Regions from separate parts of the Homo sapiens genome. Here all the other regions are linked to region 1. Evidence: promoter capture Hi-C in human tissues and cell types (Jung and others, 2019). All regions are on one chromosome and are shown on one strand. The core of a region is centred on a gene start or on the middle of the fragment in contact, and the rest is flanking DNA. Distances in the headings are between cores, read along the strand shown.

Region 1 (4,909 bases), core at 2,266-4,765:
GAACTTCTAAAGAATTTTTCACCCTACCATTACTTTCAATACCTATACTGCTTCTTTCTGAAGTGAATTACTGCCTACCTTGGAATAGCAATTTAATACTATACAACAAGGCTATCTTAAAAGTATAGTCATTCTACTCCAAAGCTATTAAACCAACATGTTTGCTTTCTTTGATCACATTTATTTGTGTACAGTTTAAATGAGTTTCTGTATTAGTTACATTATTCATATCATTAACTTGATTTTTTTTGGTAATTTATATGCATTTTCTAAGCAGGAGAGACCATATGCCAGGACATTAAACAGCTCTTTTTCTTTGTTCGTTTTTTAAAACTCTATGGGGTTTACCAGTAAAACAGAGAAAAATGCTTGGCTTTTGTGTAAATTGAACATTTAGCTTTCTTTCAGGACAAATACATTAACTCTGATTGGGGGCCATTGATGTTCACTGTGATTAAATTATGGGATTTTGTGCTTCAGCATCTAAAGTTGCTTCAGAAAAGGTGAGAAGGAGGAACAAGCAAAAAGAGAAAGCTATTCAAAAATGTCTATTTAAAAGGCAGGATTGTTTTCTATTCAAAAATTTCTGTTTAAAAGACAGGATAGTCGCTGTGGGCTAGATACCATTAGACCTGTTCACAACACAGTCAAAAGACTACCTTTTCACCTGCAGCATTTGTTTCACTGAACAGATTACTTTAAAATAGAACTGAACTTCAGACCTATTGGAAATAAAATAGCAAAGTATTAAGGCAATGCACTCAGAGAAAGATATAATGAAACAAATATATATATATATTTGCATTAAGAGTCTCCGCTCTGCATTCCCTACACTTTGGAAAGAGTTTGACAATAAAAGACAGGTGAGATTACCCAAAGGCTATAGGAAAAACTAGCAATTACCACCACCTGCTAATGCATCCAGCGTGATCTAAACATGTGAAATACCATTTGCTTCACATACAGGACTACTGACTAAGAAACTAAGTTAACAGAAGTCTTTGGCCAGAAAACCCACTGTCCCAGGTGGCCATGGCTGAGCTACTCAGCTTTTCCCAGCAGGACAATAAGCTCATCCCTACTAACACAACTGTCCTTTCAAAGCTGCTCAGTTTAGGTTCTAATCTGCACAATAACCATGTGCCTATAAGAACTGTTAAATATTATACACAGAATGGCCTTCTGTTAGAGATCTTTAAAACATATTCTCTTCTTTGCAAAATGACACTGATAGTACCGCATTGCTTTTCATATTTGTTCAATATCACAGGGTATTCTGGGTATCCAGTAAAATGAATTCCTACAGAGTAATCACATTAATAAGATATGCTACTTATTATAAATATTTCATCTTTTTCAAGCCCAGCATTCTCTTCTGGTAAAATTTAATAACCATAGTTTTCACATACCACAAGCATTGCAGAAGTTTCAAAGCTAAAGTGAAATAGATGATTATTCCAGTTTTTGTTGTAATAAGTGTGTTAACTATTTTTAAAGAAATTTATCCCTATCAAAATCAACACTTTCATGAAAGGAAAAGATAATGGCTTTTTGACCCTGTATTAGATATCGAACATTAAATCTTTGGACGCTAGAGACTATAGAGCTTTTTCATTCAATTTAATTATAGTATCCTTAAAAAGCAAATGTACTTTTGGAACTCTAGAGATGTTCACAGTCTAAAATCACTGTGGGCTGGATTTCTATTGTTTAAATATTTCCTATTATTTATGCATGTGTTGACTGTCATCTACTTAAGTGTCCAAAGTTAGAAAATTTCCTTTCTCTAGAAGACTAAATCACAACATAAGAGTGAATGGCAAGAATTTAAAGAATAACTGTGATGCATAATTTGTATTGAACTGTTGAGAGCTAACCACAAATATTAAAATGGGCTCTGTATTTAGAGCAACTAATTATAATACTGGGAAGCAAACTGGTTTTCTTTAAAACCATCTGCACTTTATGAGCTGAAGTGACAAGCAAACCTTACAGAAAATGAAGAATCAAACTTACATTTCATTTTAATCTGGGAAAGTCACCTGGGCTTTGTTTGCAAGGAAAGACTAAATTTATCAATTATTGAGGGTAAATGAAATAGTCTCTACACTAAAAGGAAAGTTTGGTTACACAGGCCTGAAAGAAGGTGTGTAGATTAGGAACGGAATCAAGAATTTTACAGCCTTGATTTGTAAGACAGAGTAAGTTTTCTTCATCCTTTTCCATTTCAGAATTAGAAACAACCCTATATCCCTACTTTATTTGCCATCAGATGCACAATCAAATAATGTTTCTATTCACGTAGACTTGAAAGGATCTTCATCCTGTGTGGGTTATTTTATTTTATAGTAGCCAAGGGAAAGAGGTTGCTGCCAATATGATGCTAAGGGCATGCAGAATAAAGACAGTCCTGGGCAACTAAACAGTCCACCTTTGTGCTGCGCTTGTGGAAGAAAAAAGCAAACCCATCACAACTTTGGGACTTGATCAACAGTGGGGAGTCACAAAACTCTTCTCAATCTCTGCATTTTAAATCTCCACCAAAAATAGCTCCTCTGTAATGGGGCTTAAAGTCCCATCCATGGCCAGTGATGGAGTACAGTACTTAATTGTTTCTGACTAGGGTCTCTGCATCAGCACTCTGAGAGTGTCTTCTAACTTTTAATCGCCTTCTGTGCTCTTTAATTAGACCTGTTCACAAGACAGTCAAAAGAAAACGCCTATCACTAAGCTTATCCAAGACGTTGAAACATGCCATTTCAGGAGTCCAGGAACTTTTGTACAAGTCTTAGCATCTTCCAGGATTAATCTGTTTTCTCTGGTTTCCTCTTCCTTAAATCAGGCACACTTGGGGGAAGGGAGAAGCTCTATGGTTATTAAGACAACTCCAATGTAAAGACACTGCCTGGTGGCAATTCCCTCCTTGCCTATTTCCGTTCTTTATTTTGTTCTTTTACCGCGTGTTACCTTTTGGCTACTAATAGGACCGGAGGGTAAAATGTCTTTTCTCTCCTTCGGAAGAGAAAGCTTTTGATCCCTCACTGAGAGCAATCCTAAGACTTTCTCCAGGGGGCTGGGATAACTAGGAAAGGGCTCTGCTCTCTCAGAAGGATTTCAGAGCCCAAACCATACAGCGTCCCTCTTGCTTAGGCGGGAGATGCAAACAGCTGAAGTGCCTTGGCCCCCACTGGTGACCCACAGTAGGACCAACCTCGCCCCGGCAGCGCCCCTGGCCTCAGGTCACTCACGCTCCTGGACTCACCTGGTGCTGAGGACCAGCGCAGGCAGGAGAGGCAGCAGGTAGTGCGCTGGGCTGAATTTCATGCTGCTGCCTGCCGGGGTCCTCCTTCCCTCGCTGCCTTCTCTCTCTCTCTTCGGGATCCTGTCGCTCCTTGGTGCCCGGCTCTGTCCCCAGCCAGTGATGAGCGCTCTTCCGAGGCGGAAAGGCGGAGACGGGCACACGAACGGACGCCTGGGGAAGGCAGGCGCTGGGAGCGAGGAGTATCTTCAGGAGTGATGTCACCGGCGAGGCGAGCCCTGCCGGGGATTGTTCGGCGCCGCCGCTCCGGAGCCCGGAGGGCGCGCCGTCACTCGCGCTGGAGGCGGCGCGGGGAGAGGGAGGGGGCGCCTCGCGATCGCCCCGTGCGCTTCGGTCACCGGGCTGCGCTCTGGTCAGTCGGGTGAGCACTGGCCAGGGGCGGATCATTTATTCCCGCTGCTCCCCAGGATGGCGCGGGGCGGGGCACGGAGAGTAGAAACCTAATCTGCCGATAATTGAACTTGCGTACTCGGCAGGAGATGAGACCCAATTCACTGGGAGAGACTTCCAGACGCGTAGGGTCCTAGGCAGGTGTCTCTCGCCGCTTAAACCGTGTTTGGAAGAACGTCGCTCTGGAGAGAGTGTTTAGAAGATTGTTCTAATTAGAACTGCATAATGATTTGCCTGAAACAGATGGAAGGAAGCGGGAGTAAGCAGCGTCCAGAAATGCAACCTCAGCCCGTCATGGCATTGCAATCTTCTTAACCCGTGAATGTTGACTGCAAAGAACCAAAGAACGTTTCGGGACCGTTAAGACATCTGCTGCTCTGGGTTTTGAAGATTTCTGATCTTCCTCTGATTTCAGTCGTCTGTACCAGCACCTGCCAATGGGGTTGGACCTGGTGGCTCAAGTTCACACACCTGAAGGAGTCCTTTTCCTCAGGTGAAACTCATCAAGGAGACCTAGCGGACAAAAACCATTAAAATGTTAACAGTAATCAGCTCGGAATGATGGTACTGGAAGGTAGAGGTTTTGTAGGTCATTTGGTTTTCTATATTTTCAAATGTTCTATCATAAGCATCCAATATTTAATAGGCTCTATTTAGAAATTTTAATTAGAAAAATTAAATAGCACAATTATAATCCAAAACACCATTTTGCAAAAGCAATTCTGAGAAACAGAACTACTATCTCTGCTACTGAGATATTCAATTCTAGGATATTTATAAGATGATATTGCATGTGTGTGTGTGTGTGTGTGTGTGTGTGTGTGTGTGTGAGTGAGAGTGAGAGAGAGAGAGAGAGAGAGAATGAGAATTCCATCTGGATATTATCCTGGTTATATAACTGTGTATAAGGCACTTCTTCATACAGTATTTAATTTAATCTTCACAAGAGCCATCCTAGTGAAATAGACGTTAATATCACTATTATAGATATGAGCAGACTGAATATCATCAAAATCTGACTATGCATATTAAAAAAAAGAACTGGTTCTACTAAGTCCTAAGAAAAATTCCACTGTTGCCTCAAACATCACAACTAGCACTCCTAGCCCAGTGTTTGACACAAAGTTGTGTTCAGTAAAGGGTGAGGTGCACCAAAGTCCCGAAAGATAATGGACAGCTGTGTCCAGGAATTCCTATCTA
Region 2 (4,499 bases), core at 1,328-3,827, 51 kb before region 1:
TGGTGGAGAGTTAAACCATTTGGAAGGTCAATGTTCCTTTCAATTGCAAACATTTAGACAACAAGAAAAAGAGTGTTACATGGAGAATAAGGTACATTCATTCCTGTTCCAAAAGACAAAAATAGATCCATTGAGGAAGGACATCTACAGTGGTGACCTGTTTTAACCCATTAGAAAGATTCAAGTTGCTAATATCTGGAAGTTTCAATAATGGAATATATTTCCTGCCTCTATAAGTGATTGGGCTGCCTGGCCATCTGGTTTACATTCAAATACTTCAAAAAACAGGTAGAAATTTGAACTCTAAGATATTTAATTACTCTTCCAGTTGTAGAATATAATATTTTGTTAAGCAGTTCTAACAACCAACCCAGCTAACAGAATAAGTCTTTCTTTTATAATTGTATTAGTCAAACTTGAAATAATGTGTGTAATTGATTTCTTACATTAAACCATGATACAATGTTAAAAGACAAAATTAAACTTCAAAATTATTCTTTAAATTATGCCTTAGTTTTATGTTTTTAATACATAAATGTGGTAGGTTCTATTTTAAAATATTTCTAACACACTGACATTTATAGCAATTAGTATCAGAAGAGCTAGCACATTTGAGTCATTATAGTGAGATTGACATGTTACTGTACACAACAGTAAAACAGATTCATAAATGTTCTCAAATCCCAAGCCATGTAAAGATTTCACATAATTGTAGGAATATTTCTAAGAATAGTCACTCAGGACATATTTTTAGAATTCCATTTCAGAAGAGGGTGGTGGGTTTTCTCCTGTTGATATGTACTAACAAGTCTTTTTCTAGCCTAGGACATGATGGTCGTGTCTTATTCCTCCATTCTAAAGAGCAGTAATTTTATTTCTTTATATTTTATTGAATCTTCCAATTCATGTCCATAAATGACCATAGAAAGCAACATGAACATTTTGGTGGTTTTAGTTAACGTTGGGGGTATTTAAATTGATACAATTTGTCTCATTCAAATTATCTATAGTCATTCACAACAAAATGACATTTTAGCCAATAAAAGATGGAATATACGATGGTAGTCTCATAAGATTACAATGGAGCTGAATAATTCCTATTGTCTAGTGAAAATGTAGCCTTTGTAACTTCATGGTGTAACACATTACTTACATGTTTGTGGTGATGCTGGTGTAAATACACCTACTTGCTTCCGCTTGTATAAAAGTATTGCACATACAGTTATGTATAGTACATAACACTTGATGATAAACGACTATGCTACTAGTTTATGTATTTGCTATATTATACTTGTTAGTGTTATTTTATATTGTACTCCGTAGACTTATTTTTAAAAAAGAATTAAGAGTAAAACGACCTCAGGCAGGCCCTTCAGTAGGTATTCCAGAAGAAGGCATTGTTATCGTAGGAGAGGACAGCTCCGTGTGTGCTGATGCCCATGGAGACCTTCCAGTAGGACAAGACGTAAAGATGCGTGACAGTGATATTGATAATCCTCACCCAGTGAGGGCCTAGGCCAATATTGTGTTAGTACCTTTGTATTTAATTTAAAAAATTTAAAATGTAAATAATATATAACAAACTTAAAAACAGGAAAAGGTTATAAAATAAGGGATATAAAAAATTTCTGTACAGCTGTACAATATACTTGCATTTTAAACTAAATTTTATAACAAAAGAATCAAAAAATTAAAATTAAAAGTGTATAGAGTAAAAAAAGTTACAGTAAGCCAAGGTTAATTTCTTATTGAAGAACAAATTTTGTAATAAATTTAACATAGGGTAAGTATACAGTATTTGTAAAGTCTATAGCAGTATACATTAATGTTTTAGGCCTTTAAAATTGAGAAGAAAAGTATTTACCATGAAACATATACAATAAATTAACCAATTAGCAAACATCTACTTCTAGAATATGAAATACTTCTCATATCATTTGATATTTAATTTTGGGCATTTTCCATGTTTCTATATTTTACAAAATTTTAACAGACATTTTAGTATATTTTAAAAACTTCTCCCTTCATGTTATTTTCTTATTTTTATTTTATCTATTTCTTTGCAACTTTTATTTTTGGTTCAGGGGATAGCTGGGCAAGTTCGTTACATGAATAAATTGTGTGTCACTGGAGTTTGACACTAGGATAATTTTGTCACCCAGATAATAAGCATAGTACCTGACAGGTAGTTTTTCAATTCTCATCGTCCTCACACCCTCCACCCTCAAGTAGTCACTGGTGTCTATTGCTCCCTTCTTTGTGCTCCTGTGTACTCAATGTTTAGCTCCCACTTATAAGTGAGAACAGGTGTTATTTGGTTTTCTCTTCCTGCATTAATTCTCTTCATCCATTAATTCCAGCGCCATCCATGTTGCAGCAAAGGTCACGATCTCATTTTTTGTTGCTGGCTGCATAGTATTCCATGGTATATATGTACCACATTTTCTTTATCCAGCCCACCTTTGATAGGCACTTAGGTTTACTCCATGTATTTGTTATTATGAACAGTGCTGCAATGAACATATGCATGTCTGTGTCTTTATGGTAGAATGATTTATAATCCTCTGGGGATATATTCAGTAATGAAATTGCTGGGTCAAATGGTAGTTCTATTTTAAGTTCCTTGTGAAATCTCCAGGCTGCTTTTCACAGTGGCTGAACTAATTTACATTTCCACCAGCAGTGTATATGCATTCCCTTTTCTCTGCAACCTTGCCAGCATGTATTATTTTTTGACCTTTTAATAATTGTCCTTCTGACTTGTATGAGATGATATCTCATTGTGGTATTAATTTGCACTTCTCCAATGATTAGTGGTGTGGAGAATCTTTTAATATGCTTATTGGCCACATAGATGTCTTCTACTGAGAAGTGTCTGTCCATTTTTTAATGAGGTAGTTTCTTTTTCTGGCTTATTGATTTAAGTTACTTTTGATTCTGAATATTAGACCTTTATCAGATGCATAGTTTGCAAATATTTACTCCCACTTTGTAGGATGTCAGTTTACTCTGTTGATAGTTTCTTTTGCTGTGCAGTGGTCTTTAATTAGGCCGCACTTGTAAATGTTTGCTTTTGTTGCAATTGCTTTTGAAATTGTCATGAAGGTTTTACCAGGGCCTATGTCCAGAATGATATTTCCTATGTTTTCTTCTAGGGTTTTTATTAGTTTTAGGTTTCACATTTAAGTCTTTAACTCACCTTAAGTAGATTTTTGTATTACATATGGTAAAAGGAAGGGGTCCTATTTCAATCTTTTGCATATGACTAACTAGTTATCTCATCATCATTTATTGAATAAATAGTCCTTTACCCACTGCTTGTTATTGTTGGCTTTGTCAAAGATCAGTTGGTTGCAGGTGTGAAGCTTTACTTTTGGGTTCTCTAACCTGTTCCGTTGGTCTATGTGTCTGTTTTTGCACCAGTACCATGCTGATTTAGTTACTGCTGCCTTGTAGTACAGTTTGAAGTCAGGTAGTGTAATGCCTCCAGCTTGTTCTTTTTGTTTAGGATTGCTTTGGCAATTTGAACTCTTTTTTAGTTCCACGTGAATTTTAGGATAGTTTTTTTTTTTCTAATTCTGTAAAGAATGTTTTTGGACAGAAATATAAATAACCATCAGAGAATCTTATGAACACACAGTAGGGAATCTAGAATAAACTGATAAATTCCTGGGCACATACACCCTCTGAAGACTGAACAAGAAAGAAAGAAACTGAAGAATCCCTGAACAGACCAATGATGAGTTCTGGAATTGAATCAGCAATAAATAGCCTACCAACCACCACCACCACCACCACCACCACCACCACCAACAACAACAACAACAACAACAAAAACACACACAAAACAAAACAAAACAAAACAAAAAACAGGACCAGATAGATTCACAGCTGAATTGTATACCAGATGTACAAAGAAGAGCTGGTACCATTCCTACTGAAACTATTTTAAAAAATTGAGGAGGAAGGACTCCTCTCTAACTCATCCTATGAGGCCAGCATCATTCTGATACAAAAACCTGGCAAACACACAACAATAAAAGAAAACTTCTGGCCAATATCTTTGATGAACATTGATGCAAAAATCCTCAACAAAATACTGGCAAACTGAATCCAGCAACATATCAAAAGCTTATTCACCACAGTAAAGTGGGCTTTATCCCTGGGATGCAAAGTTGGTTCAACATAAGCAAATCAATAAATGTGATTCACACCACATAAACAGAATTAAAAACAATACCCACATGATCATGTTAATAGGTGCAAAAAAAGCTTTTGATAAAATTCATTTTTTTATGTTAAAAAACCTCAAGAAACTAGGGAACACATTTCAAAATAATAGGAGCCATTTATGGCAAACCCACAGTCATCCTCATACTAAACAGGGAGGAGCTGGAAGCATTTCCCTTGAAAACTGGCAACAGACAGGGATTCCTTCTCTCACCATTCTTGTTCAACATTGTCTTGGAAGTTTTGGCCAGAGCAATCAGGCAGGATAA
Region 3 (4,351 bases), core at 420-2,919, 57 kb after region 1:
ATACTAACTTTTGTGAAAATATATAGCAATCTTTACTCTCATAGAGAGCTGATGGATGAGTAAGTTGGTGCAACCATTTGGAAAAATTATTTGGCAATATTTACTGAAGCTGAGCATATGCATAATTTATGTTTCAACATTTTCATTCTTAGGACTATATTGATTATTGGGGCATGGTGGCACTCATCTGTACTCCTGGCTACTTGGGAGGCTGAGGCAGCAGAATCACTTGAGTCCAGGAGGTTGAGGCTAAAGTGAGCCATGATCACACCATTGCACTACAGGCTGGGTTACAAGAGCAAGACTCTATCTCAAAACCAAAGAAAAAAAAGAAAAAAGAAATGTGTCCAATATAAGTGTACACATGTTCTCAACAATACAAGTACATGAATATTCAGAGAAATACTATTCATGATATACAAAATCAGAAAATCACAAACATCCATCAGCACTAGAATGGATAAATTTATAGTATTTAAAACAATGAATATTATTTATCAATGAAATTAGAATAATTACAACTACACATAACAACGTGGCTATCATAAATATATTCTGAGCACTAGATATCTAAAACAAAAGAGTACATCTGGCATGTTCCTATTTATATATTATATATTAATTATATATTTAATATATTATTAAATATATTTAATAGTAATATTTATATAACAAAGTAAACATTTACTATATTGTTAACGTTTATATAAAGATTAAAAACAGGCATTATTGATTTATGATTTTAGAAAATTACAATAGTCATCTTTTATTTTATAGGAGGGAAAGGAAAGATAAAGTGAGTGAAAGAGAGTACAAGGGGTTCTTTTGTGGGTATTGTTAAATGTTCTGTTTCTTGATCTAGGTGATGATTGCATGAATGTGGTTACATGCATTTTGTTATTCAATAAAAATTTAGTAAAATACATACTTAAAAACTTTAAATCAATTCAGACTAATAATAAATACCTTTAGGAAAAGGAAACTACCTTAACTTGATAAGAATTATCTTAAAAAAATGCAAACTACAGAGTCAAAACTTTCACTTTTAGATCAGGAACAAAAAGAGAAAGCCCAATATCACCTGTTCAATACAACAATGAATCAAAGATGTAACCAGGGTCAGTAATACAAGAAAAGAGCCAAAATATCTAAAGATTGGAAAACAAGTAAAACTGTATGTGAAGAAGCTATGATAGCATAGCATAAGAAAATCTATAGAAAAGTGATTAGATTTCATTATTGAGTTCTTAAAGTTTCTATGTGTGAAATTAACATACAGATCAACTACATACTTTATATTAGTAAAAACCAAAAAAAAAGAAATATAAAATGTATTGTTTATAATAACAATGAAAAATAATGCAATCCTTAGAAATAAATTTAACATATGGGTGAATATTTTGGAGAAATATATAAATATCAATCAGAGGCATTACAGAAGATGCAATTATTGTCTTCCTAGGAACTATTTTCCTAGTTCTTGGGGACAGTTTAGAAGAAAATCAAGGTGAGTCACTTTGGTTTGTCAATATTGAGATTTATTCTAAAGCTACGTGAATTGAAAAATTACCATCTCTGAGACGGAGAAATCAATACAACAGGGAGTTCTTAAAAATACTCTTGTAGATACGGGTATACTATATGATATGGCTAGCATTATATACTGTAGAGAAATAATACCTATCAAAGGAAAACAAATACAGTTATTAAAATTTAATAGTTTGAGAAAATCAGTCATAAAAATAATGTAACTCTTATATTTACTATCCACAAATAACAATTCCAGACGGATTAACAACCAATTAACATGGATAAAATGTATTAAGATAATTAAACTCAGAAAATTATTTAAGAAAAGAGCAGACTACAAAAACATACATCATATAATAGTTCATCTGGAAAAAAGATAAATATATGAAGTAATTATATATAACACATTCAGATGAATACACATATAGCAAACTAATAAAGACAAGGTATGGGTAAGAAAGGTATGGGAAAGAAAAGTATGTCATTGTTGAGGAGGGGTGCTGAATTATTCTTGTAATATTTTATGTACGTATACATACACTCAAGTGGATTTCAAGGAAAATTGGAATGAAAACAATTAAGTAAAATAAATATTTTAAATAAAATAAAAACAATTTTCAACATAATCTCCATAAGATCAAGACACATTTGTAAGTGATGATAACAGCCATTTAGTCTGGCCCTAAAGAGCTGAGGGCCCTGGGAATTTAAACATGTTAATACTATATTTTTTACATTACTAACGGAAGAGAAATGGAAGCCCTTTAAAGACTTTTTTAAGATTAGGAAATGAAAAGGAGTCAGAACCAAATCAGAACTTAAGGCAGAAGCTTAATGATTTCTCATCAAAAATCTCTCCAAATTGCCTCTGTTTGATGAGAGATTAATGAGTAGGAACATTGTTGTACTGGAGAAAGACTAAAGCTTTCCTGGATGTTTTTCTGCTAAAGCTTTCTCTTTCTCAAAAACTCTCATAAACAGATGTTATTGTTCTTTGGCCCTCCAGAAAATCAGTAAGCACAATGCCTTGAGCATTCTCCCAAAACCGTTGCCATTACCTTTGTTCTTGACTCATCTGCTCTTGCTTTTACTGGATTATTTCCATCTCTTGGTAGCCATTGCTTTGACTGTGCTTTGTCTTCAGGATCATACTGTTAGAGTCATGTTCTATCTCCTATTACATTATTTGAAGAAGTACTTCAGGAGCTTGATCCCACTTATTGAAATTTGCCACTGAAACTTCCCTTGTCTGAAACTGATTTGTGCCATTAGTCATTGGTCCTCTACAATTAGGGCATAAACAAGATTTTTTTGTCCTTGAAAACTGATGTGGATGATCTGATGCTATGGGCTTCATCTTCGACATGGTCTTCTCCCTTCTTAAAATGAGTTATTCATTTGTAAACTGCTGATTTAATTGGGCCATTATCCTTATACACTTTTTGTAAAGCATCAGTGATTTCACCATTCTTCCATCCAAGCTTCACCATGAATTTTATGTATGCTCTTGCTTCTGTTTTAAAGGATTTGTGTGAGCAACACAAACATGTGATATGGTTTTGCTGTGTGTCCCCACCCAAATCTCATCTTGAAGTGTACCTCCCATAATTCCCATGTGTTGTGGGAGGAACGTGGTGGGAGATAATTGAATCATGACGGCAGTTTCCCCCATACTGTTTTCCTGGTAGTGGATTAATCTCATGAGATCTGATGTTTTTATAAGGGATTTCTGCTTTCAGATCTCTCTGATTGTCTCTTGTCCACCGCTATGTAAGATGTGCCTTTCACCTTGTAGCGTGATTGTGAGTAAGCACAATGCCTTGAGCATTCTCCCAAAACCGTTGCCATTACCTTTGTTCTTGACTCATCTGCTCTTGCTTTTACTGGATTATTTCCATCTCTTGGTAGCCATTGCTTTGACTGTGCTTTGTCTTCAGGATCATACTGTTAGAGTCATGTTCTATCTCCTATTACATTATTTGAAGAAGTACCTCAGGAGCTTGATCCTGAAGCTCCTGTGTGGAACTGTGAGTCCATTAAACCTCATTTTCTTTATAAATTACCCAGTCTCAGGTATGTCTTTATCAGCAGTGTGAAAATGGACTAATACACTCCGATAAAGTCTCTTTTTAAACTAATGTCTAATCCTTCTTAGTGCCTCAAACTAGACCCTCTTCAGATAGACCAAATTAGTGTGAGTTTATATCGAAGTAAAAAAAATAAAATTCATGCAGTTTTTTCATAAGGCACATATTCCACGAACTTGTTGAAGACCCCTTGTATTGATTTTTGCATGCAGTTTTTGCATGCAGTTTCTTGCTTGTAACAAGGGCAGTTTCCCACAGCCCTTGTTGCAGTCTTTTGTTACAATGTTAAGGTACTTCAGACCTGAGAAGCAGGCCTCAGAAAATAAAATGTTTCTCTCTGACCTTCTCCTGCCTGCCTTTTACCAGTTCCTTTTTGTCCTCAAGGCAGGACTCTTTTTATACCTTTCTGTCTTGGAGCTGGTCATAAGCAAATTCCCTGACTGACTGTATGTCATAAGACTTCCATTGCAGAAGAAGTTCTGTCCCAAACCCTGGAGAATGATATGCTATACCAAGTGGCAAAGAAGTATCTGAACAGACAGGCCTTGCCGGGTTTCCCCCATTCAATCTATTAGTATTACATCATACCCTTTTTGTCCAGTCACATTTCTATATGGCTGTCAATCATACCTCAGTAATAAAACCTTCATATTCTCCCAAAAGGACAGGGTGGGGAGAGCTTCCAGATAGCTGAACATGTCTGTGAAGGCTCCTGGAGGGTAGCACACCCAGGG

What was found. The method cuts DNA at HindIII sites, captures the fragments that hold promoters and counts their contacts. A contact is called where the count stands out against the background at its distance.
Region 2: a fragment that was not itself captured here is called in contact with the fragment with the promoter of LUZP2 in region 1 in 2 of the 25 tissues and cell types used here (dorsolateral prefrontal cortex and spleen).
Region 3: a fragment that was not itself captured here is called in contact with the fragment with the promoter of LUZP2 in region 1 in 3 of the 25 tissues and cell types used here (adrenal gland, aorta and stomach).

The regions. Positions count from the first base shown.
Region 1 is chr11:24,495,659-24,500,567 of GRCh38, reverse strand. It overlaps LUZP2 (leucine zipper protein 2), which reads right to left and starts at 3,515. Exons shown (of 12, transcript NM_001009909.4): 1 at 3,263-3,515. The coding sequence starts at 3,324. The HindIII fragment of the contact is 10,753 bases long and covers 1-4,909 here.
Region 2 is chr11:24,546,277-24,550,775 of GRCh38, reverse strand. All of the region lies in intron 1 of LUZP2 (leucine zipper protein 2), which reads right to left. Among named protein-coding and RNA genes, the nearest start is that of LUZP2, 51 kb to the right of the region's middle. The HindIII fragment of the contact is 8,095 bases long and covers 1-4,499 here.
Region 3 is chr11:24,437,590-24,441,940 of GRCh38, reverse strand. No RefSeq gene overlaps it. Among named protein-coding and RNA genes, the nearest start is that of LUZP2, 57 kb to the left of the region's middle. The HindIII fragment of the contact is 6,863 bases long and covers 1-4,351 here.